2 separate regions of the Homo sapiens genome follow, and region 2 is linked to region 1. Evidence: promoter capture Hi-C in human tissues and cell types (Jung and others, 2019). All regions are on one chromosome and are shown on one strand. The core of a region is centred on a gene start or on the middle of the fragment in contact, and the rest is flanking DNA. Distances in the headings are between cores, read along the strand shown.

Region 1 (4,902 bases), core at 1,427-3,926:
TGGCCTTCCAAAGTGCTGGGATTACAGGCATGAGCCACCACACCCTGCTTTTTTGTTTTTTTTTTTTTTTGGACGGAGTTTCTCTCTTGTTGCCCAGGCTGGAGTGCAATGGTGCGATCTCAGCTCACTGCAACCTCCGCCTCCCGGGTTCAAGAGGTTCTCCTGCCTCAGTCTCCCAAGTAGCTGGGATTACAGGCATGAGCCACCGTGCCTGGCTAATTCTGTATTTTCAGTAGAGACGGGGTTTCTCCATGGTGGTCAGGCTGGTCTTGAACTCCCGATCTCAGGTGATCTGCCCACCTCGGCCTCCCAAAGTGCTGGGATTACAGGCATAAACCACCACACCCGGCCTTTTTTTTTTTTTTTTTTTGAGACGGAGTCTCGTTCTGTTGCCCTGGCTGGAATGCAGTGGTATGATCCCAGCTCCCTGCAACCTCTGCCTCCCGGGTTCAAGCGATTCTCCTGCCTCAGCAAAAGTAGCTGAGACCACAGGTGCCCGCCACCACGCCCGGGTCATTTTTGTATTTTTAGTAGAGAGGGGGTTTCACCATGTTGGCCACTCTGGTGTTTTGTTTTGTTTTGTTTTGATACAGGGTCTCACTCTTGTGTCCCAGGCTGGAGTGCAGTAGCCCCATCTCCGCTCACTGCAACATCTGCCTCCTGGGCTCAAGTGATCCTCTCAGCCTCCCGAGTAGCTGGGATTACAGGCATGTGCCACCACACCCATCTAATTTTTTGTATTTTTAGTAGAGATGGGGTTTCGCCATGTTATCTAGGCTGGTCTCGAACTCCTGAGCTCAAGCGGTCCACCTGCCTTGGCCTCCCAAGTACTGGGATTACCGGCAGGAGCTGCCGCACCTGGCCAGAACATACAATTTCAAGTTGTGGCTCAAGAGAAGGTACCTGGCTTGGTCTGAGGAGTCAGGAGAAGTCTCCCTGAGGAGCTGACGTCTGAATTGAAACGGAGAGGATGCTCAGGGGTTGGCCAAGGAGGCCAGAGAGGGAAAAGGGTTTTCAGTAGTCAGCAAGGTGGTGGGAACACACGTTTTTATAAATTCTGGTGGCCACTTCCATTTCATCTGCAAAGTAAGGATAAAGATATGGCTGGGTGAGGTGGCTCACATCTATAATCCCAGCGCTTTGGGAGGCCGAGGAGGGCAGATCACTAGAGGCCAGGAGTTTGAGACCAGCCTGGCCAACGTGGCGAAACCCGCTCTCTACTAAAAATACAAAATTAGCCAGGCATGGTGGCGCGCCTGTAATCCCAGCTACTTGGGAGGGTGAGGCAGGAGAATCACTAGAGCCTGTGAGGCAGAGGGTGCAATGAACCTAGATCACGCCCCTGCACTCCAGCCTGGGCGACAGAGCAAGACTCCATCTCAAAAAAAGAAGAAGAAAAAAAAGATATCCCTTGGGTAGGGTTAGCTTAACGGGCTTACAGCAGTGCCTGGTATCCTGTAGGCATTTCATGAATGCGTATACCTGGCCTGGAATGGTGCAGGCACTGCAGTAAGGCCTGATTGACACCTGATGGACAGCAGGCACTCCATTAATCTCTGGTCCGTGCCTGGCATATAGAATGTGTCCCATTAATGCCTGATACACAGTAGGTGTCCCATTAACGCTTTTTAATTTTTTTTTTTGAGACAGAGTCTCGCTCTGTCGCCCAGGCTGGAGTGCAGTGGCATGATCTCAGCTCACTGCAAGTTCCGTCTCCCGGGTTCACGCCATTCTCCTGCCTCAGCCTCCCGAGTAGCTGGGACTACAGGCGCCCGCCACCACGCCCGGCTAATTTTTTGTATTTTTAGTAGAGACGGGGTTTCACCGTGTCAGCCAGGATAGTCTCGATCTCCTGACCTCGTGATCCACCCGCCTCGGCCTCCCAAAGTGCTGGGATTACAGGCGTGAGCCACCGCGCCCGGCCCTCTTTTTTTTTTTTTTTCTTTGGAGACGGAGTTTCGTTCTTGTTGCCCAGGCTGGAGTGCAATGGCGTGATCTCGGCTCACTGCAACCTCCGCCTCCTGGGTTCAAGTGATTCTCCTGCCTCAGCCTCCCGAGTAGCTGGGATTACGGGCGTGCACCACCACGCCGGGCTAATTTTGTAGTTTTAGTAGAGACGGCGTTTCTCCCTGTTGGTCAGGCTGGTCTCGAACTCCAGACCTCAGGTGATCCGCCCGCCTCGGCCTTCCAAAGTGCTGGGATTACAGGCGTGAGCCACCGCGCCCGACCTCCATTAACGCTTTTTAATGGATGAGTGAAGGTTCCTGTCAGGCAATGTCAGGGCGCTTCCCGGGGGCAGCGACTGCTGCCCAGGCACCTGGAGACCCAGAGAGCGCAGCGGCCGCGTGCGCGCCTCCGCCACCGCGCCTGGGCCGAGCCGAGCGGGACCGAGCGGGGCCGAACGGAGCCGAGCGGAGCCGAGCCTGGCCGGGCCGAGTCCGCCACATTCCCACAATCCCGGGCGGCCCCGCCCCGGCTCCCGGCTGCGCGTCCCCCTTCCCACGTCGGCGCAACCAAACCCGCGGGCCCCCCGCCCTCGCCCCGCCCCGCCCCTTTCGCGCCCGCCGACGCCCCGCCCAGGCCGCTAGTCCCGCCCCCATGGTGGGCGCGCTTGGCCGCCGGCCCCTCCCATTGGCCGCACCGTCTGCCCGTCGCGGGCTGCGCTCCCAGCCTGCTAGGTTGTCCGGCGCTGTCGCTCGGTTGCGGCGGCTGCGGTTGGCGGTGGCTGCGGCGGCGGCGCGGGCTGAGTGCGGCCGCGCGGGAGTCCGCGGCTGGCGCGGCCCGAGCGGGGACCCGGCGGCTCGCCAGGCGGCGGCCGAGGCGGGGCGGGCCGGCCCGGGGCCGAGGGCCGGTGGCCGAGGCCGGAGGGCCGCGGCGGGCGGCGGCCGAGGCGGCTCCGGCCAGGGCCGGGCCGGGGGCCGGGGGGCGGCGGCGGGCAGGCGGCCGCGTCGGCCGGGGCCGGGACGATGACTCTGGAGTCCATGATGGCGTGTTGCCTGAGCGATGAGGTGAAGGAGTCCAAGCGGATCAACGCCGAGATCGAGAAGCAGCTGCGGCGGGACAAGCGCGACGCCCGGCGCGAGCTCAAGCTGCTGCTGCTCGGTGAGTGCGGCCCCCGGGCCTGCCGGCTGCGGGCCCTGCCCTGCCTGTGCCTGCCCTGCCTGTCCGGGTCGGGCCGGGACCCTCCGGGGTCAGCCCTGCCTGTGCCGTCCGGGTCGCGAGACCCTCCGGGGTCAGCCCTGCCTGTGCCTTCCCTGCCTGTCCGGGTCGCGGGACCCTCGAGTGTCAGCCCTGCCTGTGCCTTCACTGCCTGTCCGGGTCGGGGCGGGGCCCTCCGGGATCAGCCCTGCCTGTGTCGTCTGGGTCGGCTCGGGACCCTCTGGGGTCAGCCCTGCCTTTGCTGTCTAGGTCGGCACCTGGGACCCTCCGGGGTCAGCTGCGGGCCCCTGATTTCTTTGGGGTCAGCCCCTGCCTTAACTGTTCATGTTGGCACCTGGGACTCTCCGGTGTCAGCCTGTGTCTGTCCTGTCTGGATCAGGCCCCCGATCACTCCTAGGTCAGCTCCCAGCTTCTGCTGTCTACATTGGGCCTCCAGGACTCTTCAGGATTTGCCCTCTGTTCCTTCTCAAGGGACCAGTCCCTCCCTGCACAGGGACCTTCTGACCTTACCCCACCGGAGTACCCACCCCTCGCTACCCCTTCAGGGCCAGACCTTTGGGCTGTAACCCACAGGGCACACTCACCCCTCACTGCTCAGGGCCCCGCGTTGACCCTTCCCTCCAGGCAGAGCCCTGTACACTCCATGCAGGCCCTGTACCCTCCATGCAGGCCCTGTACACCCCCCCATCCCCCCGAAGACTCCTCCGTGTCCCCTATCCCCACATTCCCTTCAGGGCCATTCTCCTGCCTTCCTGTTCCGGGAAACCCCGTACTCCTCTTGGCTGGAATGCACCCTGTGGGAAAAAGACAGTCTTTCCTCTCCTCAGGGTTCCGCTCAGCTGAGGGTGGGGCGGTTGACACCTGAGGGAGCCTTTGCTTGTTGTCCCAAGCAGCTATCTCGGCAGCCTCCCCCGCCCCCTTCCTTAGAGTCCTGGTGGGAGCCACGCTGAGTCCTCGTTGAGAGCAGCCCCCCACCTGCCGGCTCCTCCCCACCGTCCTGGAGAAGGTTTGCTGGTGAACCTCCTTCTCCCCAAGGCACACCTGCTGCAGGGAGCCAGTCGGGCCAGCTGTAAAGTGTTGTCACTCCAAATAAGGGCCCCTTCAGTGGTTTACAAAACAGAAGCTCTTGCCCTGCCCCGCCCCTGCCCTCCCGAGCTCCTAGGTTAGCTCCTGGGCCGGGGGCGGGGCGGTGGGGAAGGTCGGAAATGCGTGAGAGGCAGCGGTGACGGAGGAGGGGGCGTGCTGGTGGCGGTGGCTCTTGGGGAGGAGGCAGGTCGCATGTTGTGTGGGGAACACGTTGCCTCTCCTGCCGTGAGCCTCTTAGGGCCCTCCGTGTCCCGGGTTACAGAGGTGCCTTGGATGAAACGCCTTCCTGATTTTTTTCCCCAAACTTGTGTTTTGATTTACCTAAGGGTTCTAAAATGGGCCATCTTTCCAGGGGGCCGCGGGTAGGCAGAGCCGTGGTCCTCACGTTTGGAGGAAATGTGCAGTGCGGCCCGCGTGGTGGCACTTTGCACAGAGTGGCACTGGCTGGCTTTTGTAGTGGGTCGTGGACTTTGTTTGGATGGAGGGGAGTTAGGAATTACTGGTGTCATAAAGATCTTACCAGATGGCCTTGCCCTGTGGCTCTGTGACCTCCAGAACCCCCGCCGCCATCCCTGCATGCACCCGGTCTTCTGTGCCTGCACTTTGGACTTGAGATTGACACGGGGTTCAAGGACGAAGGTCAGGGGCTCCCGTGTC
Region 2 (5,509 bases), core at 1,426-3,925, 1.1 Mb after region 1:
GTGCAGTAATGTGAGTTAGTGTTGGATAAAAGAACCATATCGTGTGTGGCATATGGTAGCCCCTTATTGAATTTTGATTTCATGAATACATATGAGTGATCCATTGAAAAATATAAACCAGGCCGGGCGTGGTGGCTCATGCCTGTAATCCCAGCACTTTGTGAGGCCAAGGCGGGTGAATCACTTGAATTCAGGAGTTCAAGACCAGCCTGGCCAACATGGTGAAACCCCATCTCCACCAAAAATACAAAAATTAGCTGGGTGTGGTGGTGGGAGCCTGTAATGCCAGCTACTCAGGAGGCTGAGGCAGGAGAATCGCCTGAACCTGGGAAGTGGAGGTTGCAGTGAGCTGAGATTGTGCTACTGCACTCCAGCCTGGGCGACAGAGCGAGACTCTGTCTTGAGAAAGAAAGAAAGAAAGAGAGAAAGAAAGATAGAGAGAGAAAAGAGAAAAAAAGAGAGAGGAAAGAAGGAAGGAAGGAGGGAGGGAGGGAGGGAGAGAAGGAAGGAAGGAAGGAAGGAAAGGAAGGAAGGAAGGGGAAGGGAACCAGGATGTGAATTTTTTTAGAGCAAGGAGGGCACATAAATTACCCCTCTCAACCTAGCACATGGCACAGTGTCCAGCAAACAGAAAGCTTGATTTAGTCTCCTATTTGCTAAACTTCCAACAGTGCCCTGCTGTTTAGCACAAACCAAACTCCTTGCCACAACACACAGGGCTTTGCACGACCTGCCCCGTCCCCTCCCTGCCTTCCCCTCCTCCCTGCCTTCCCCTCCTCCCTGTCTTCCTCTCCTGCCTGTCTTCCTCTCCTCACTCTGCTCCAGCCACAGGGGTCTCATTGCTGTTCCTCCAATGCGCTAGGCACGGACCTGCCTCAGGGCCTTTGCACAAACTGTGCCTCTGCCTGGGACACCTTTCCCCAGACCTTCCCAGGGCCAGTTCCATCTCATCCTTCAGGACTGCACTGAACATGTCATTTTTTTTTTTTTTGAGACAGAGTCTCACTGTCGCCCAGGTTGGAGTGCAGTGGTGTGATCTCAGCTCACTGCAACCTCCGCCTCCTGGGTTCAAGTGATTCTCCTGCTTCGGCCTCCCGAGTACTGGTATTGCAGGCATGTGCTACCACACCCATCTAATTTTTATATTTTTAGTACAGATGGGGTTTCACCATGTTGGCCAGGTTGGTCTCAAACTCTTGACCTCAGGTGATCCACCCACCTCGGCCTCCCAAAGTGCTGGCATTACAGATGTGAGCCACCACGCTTGGTCTAATATGTCATCTGCTAAAGGGGGACTTTGCCTGGGCACAGTGGCTCATGCCTGTAAATCCAGCACTTTGGGAGGCTGAAGCAGGTGGATCATTTGAGCCCAGGAGTTTGAGACCATACTGGCCAACACAGTAAGACCCCATCTCTATAAAAAAAAAAAAACAAAATTAGCCAGGTGTGGTGGTGCACGCCTGCAGTCCTAGCTACTTGGGAGGCTGAGACGGGAGGATCACTTGAACCCAGGAGTTGGAGGCTGCAGTGAGCTATGATCCTGCCACTGCACTCCAGCCTGGGCAATAGAGTGAGACCCTGTCCTCCACCAACACCAAAAAAAAAAACAAAAAAACAAAACAGGGCTCCTCTCTCTTGGTAGGGGGTGGAGGGGAGGTCAGAGACACCTCTCAGCCACCCGGGCTGATTCACAAATATCGAACATTCACTAAAATGTCAATACAGTGACCTAGAGCCAGAGGGGAAGAGGGAGGGTACAAGAGGAGAGTTCCAGGCAGAGGGGCGAGCAGGTGAGTAGGTGCAAAGGCCCTAAGCAGGAACCAGTTTGGCTCCATAAATATTTGTTGACTCAATGAACGATAGAAGATTCTAGAGAGAATTGATTGCACAGAATCACCCATGGGGACTCAGAGGCGGAGTCCAAGCTGGTTTCGGAGGGGGCTGGGGGCCGGAGGTTGGCAGGTGGGGTGAAGGATGGGAGCCGCTAGCTGCTGGCAGGAAAACTGGCTTCAGTGAAGATCTGGTCTGGTCCTCTTGGTTTGTTTCTGTCCAGGGAGTGGACAGGACCCATGTAAGGGCCCTGGGCTATCCCAGAACCCATCTGGGAATTCTGAAGAGAAAAAGTCCTGTAACTGGCCGGGTGCGGTGGCTCACGCCTGTAATCCCCGCACTTTGGGAGACTGAGGGGCCGATCACGAGGTCAGGAGTTCGAGACCAGCCTGGAAAACATGATGAAACCTCGTCTCTACTAAAAATACAAAAGTTAGCCGGGCATGGTGATGGGGACCTGTAGTCCCAGCTACTCGGGAGGCTGAGGCAGGAGAATCACTTGAACCCAAGAGGCAGAGGTTGCAGTGAGCCGAAATGAGATGGCACCACTGCACTCCAGCTTGGGCCACAGAGCGAGACTCCGTCTCAAAAAAGAAAGAAAAAAAGAAAAAGTCCTCATAAGTAGGGCAGAGGTCACGGCAGAGTGGAGGTACCCCAGACTTCGACCTTTGCTCACTGAGGGCTGGAAAACCACAAAACACCCAGATAACGGTCTTCCCTCCCCTGCTCCTGCCTGCCCCAGTGTCACTGGCCCTCAACCCTGTCTCTCCACCCTGTCCACCAATCAGCACCTGGAGGTGGGCTGGGAGCTGCCTGTGACCGCTTCAGCATCTTTTGGGAGTGGTGACAGAGCCACAGAGGGCTGTGAGCTTGCCCGGCCCCAGGTAACGCTGGCGGTGGGTGGGCCTCCAGCTTGGAGCAGAGACCCCCCGAGGCATCTGCAGACAGAACTGGATGGACCCATGAATACGGATTTAGCTGCTGGAAAGGTGAGCCCTACTAGGTCCCCAGGGAGAGCGGGAGTCTAGGCTGGGAAAGCCTACCCAAGCTGCCAGAGCTGGAAGGACCCCATCTCCACCCCTATTGTACAGATGGGAAGACTGAGGCCCAGAGAAAGGATGCAATGAGCAAAACTGTGTGCCTTTGCCCCGGGGCTGCCCTTGTCTTTCTTCCAGGTCCCCCTGCCTCCTAGGAGCGGGCACTTGGGGAGGCTGTGAAGGCCTGAGAGGCAAGCGGCATCTCTAGCTAGGGCCTCTCTCCAGCACTTTTTATTTTATTTTATTTTATTTTTATTTTTATTTTTTGAGATGGAGTCTCCCTCTGTCACCCAGGCTAGAGTGCAATGGCACGATCTCAGCTCACTGCAACTTCCACCTCCTGGGTTCAAGAGATCTTCCTGCCTCAGCCTCCCAAGTAGTTGGGATTACAGGTGTGCACCACCACGCCCGGCTAATTTTTGTACTTTTCCTAGAGACAGGGTTTCACCATGTTGGCTAGGCTGGTCTCAAACTCCTGACTTCAGGTGAGCTGCCCGCCTCGGCTTCCCAGAGTGCTGGGATTACAGATGTGAGCCACCGTGCCTGCCATACTTTTTTGTTTTTTGAAACAAGGTCTTGCTCTGTGACCCAGGGTGGAGTGCAGTGGGGTGGCCATAGCTCACTGCAGCCTCAACCTCCTGGGTTCAAGGGATCCTCCTACCTCAGCCTCCCCAGTAGCTGGGACGACAAGTGTGTGCCACCGCAGCCAGCTAATTTTTTTAAATTATTTGCAGTAGGGATAGGGGTCTCTATGTTGCGCAGGCTGGTCTTGAACTCCTGGGCTCAAGTGATCCTCCTGCCCCGGCCTCCCAAAGTGCTGAGATTACAGGCATGAGCCACCACATCCAGCCTCTCCAGCACTTTAAGAGAAATTGGCTCTCACACTGTGGAATTCTCTCTATCAGCCTCAAAGTCCAGATTTGGAAAGGGAGTCTCAGCGAGGGGCAGCAGCTGGCCCAACCCGGAGGCAGAGCGGCAACTGAACTCTAGCCGGAAAGAGCCAGGGTTATGTGCACATGGGAGGTGGGGAGGACAGGGGCTGTATGTGACCCTCACATCTGTTCCTCGCGCCCCAGATGGCTTCTGCTGCCTGCTCCATGGACCCCATCGACAGCTTTGAGCTCCTGGATCTCCTGTTTGACCGGCAGGACGGCATCCTGAGACACGTGGAGCTGGGCGAGGGCTGGGGTCACGTCAAGGACCAGGTGAGGAGTCCACTGCAGTTGCCCCGGGACCACAGAGCTCCAGGCGGGCCAACTGAGGCCCCACGAAGGTGCTAGACCCGCCAGAGCCCAGCCAGAGCTCTGCTCAGCTCTACGATGCACTAATGGGTCACGGTGCTTGATTTTAGCCAAGCACATCATTTAGCGGGTAGCATCAGCTCCTTCTTACAGGTGGGGAATGGAGGCCCAGAGCAGGGTGGAAACTCATCCAAAGTCACACAGCAATTTGGAGTTAGGTTCAAACTCAAACTTGGGGCATCTCCCTGGCTAGGTTCGGTTCTCTTCTCCTTCCTCTCCTTCCTTTCTCTCTTTCTTCTTCTTTTTTTTTTTTTTGAAGGAGTCTCGCTCTGTTGCCCAGGCTGGAGTGCAGTGGTGCCATCTCGGCTCACTGCAACCTCTGCCTCCCGGGTTCAAGCGATTCTCTTGCCTCAGCCTCCCAAGTAGCTGGGATTACAGGCGCCCGCCACTGCACCTGGCTAATTTTTGTATTTTTAGTAGAGATGGGTTTCACTATCCTGGCCAGGCTGGTCTTGAACTCCTGACCTTGTGATCCACCCACCTCAGCCTCCCAAAGTGCTGAGATTACAGGCGTGTGCCACCGCGCCCGGCCCACTTTCTTTTTTTTCTTTCTTTTCTCTCTCTTTTTCTCTTTCCTTCCTTCCTTCCTTCCTTTTTTCCTTCCTTTCTCCCTCTTTCTTTTACTCTCTTTTTTTTTTTTTGAGATAGAGTTTCACTCTTGTCACCCAGGCTGGAGCGCAATGGCGCGATCTTGGCTCACTGCAACCTCCGCATCCCAGGTTCAAGTGATTCTCCTACCTCAACTTCCCGAGTAGCTGGGATTACAGGCAGCCGCCACCACGCTCGGCTAATTTCTTGTGTTTTTAGTAGAGATGGGGTTTCACCATGTTGGCCAGGCTGGTCTTGAACTTCTGACCTCGGGTGATCCACCTGCCTTGGCCTCCCAAAGTGCTGGGATTATAGGCGTGAGCCACCACACCCGGCCCTTTTTTCTCTTTCTTTCTCTCTCTCTCTCGTTTCTCTCTCTCTCTCTCTCTCTCTCTCTCTCTCTCTCTCCCCCCCTCTCTCTCTGTCTCTCTCTCTCTCCCCCTCCCTCCCTTCCTCCCTTCCTCCCTTCCTTCCTCTCTCTCTCTCTTTCTTAGACAGAGTTTCGCTGTTGTTTTGCCCAGGCTGGAGTGCAATGGTGTGATCTTGGCATACCGCAACCCCCACCTCCCAGGTTCAAGTGATTCTCCTGCCTCAGCTTCCCGAGTAGCTGAGATTACAGGCATGTGCCACCATGCCTGGCTAATTTTGAATTTTTAGTAGAGACGGGGTTTCTCCCTGTTGGTCAGGCTGGTCTCAAACTCCCGACCTCAGGTGATCTGCCCGCCTTGGCCTCCCAAAGTGCTGGGATTACAG

The links. The method cuts DNA at HindIII sites, captures the fragments that hold promoters and counts their contacts. A contact is called where the count stands out against the background at its distance.
Region 2: a contact is called between the fragment with the promoter of CREB3L3 here and the fragment with the promoter of GNA11 in region 1, in 1 of the 25 tissues and cell types used here (hippocampus).

The regions. Positions count from the first base shown.
Region 1 is chr19:3,091,686-3,096,587 of GRCh38, forward strand. It overlaps GNA11 (G protein subunit alpha 11), which reads left to right and starts at 2,677. Exons shown (of 7, transcript NM_002067.5): 1 at 2,677-3,102. The coding sequence starts at 2,967. RefSeq lists silencers at 2,346-2,595, 2,616-2,735, 3,056-3,185, 4,340-4,429 and enhancers at 2,482-3,469, 3,470-4,455, 4,456-4,902. The HindIII fragment of the contact is 21,058 bases long and covers 1-4,902 here.
Region 2 is chr19:4,150,956-4,156,464 of GRCh38, forward strand. It overlaps CREB3L3 (cAMP responsive element binding protein 3 like 3), which reads left to right and starts at 2,676. Exons shown (of 10, transcript NM_032607.3): 1 at 2,676-2,819; 2 at 3,944-4,072. The coding sequence starts at 2,793. The HindIII fragment of the contact is 37,156 bases long and covers 1-5,509 here.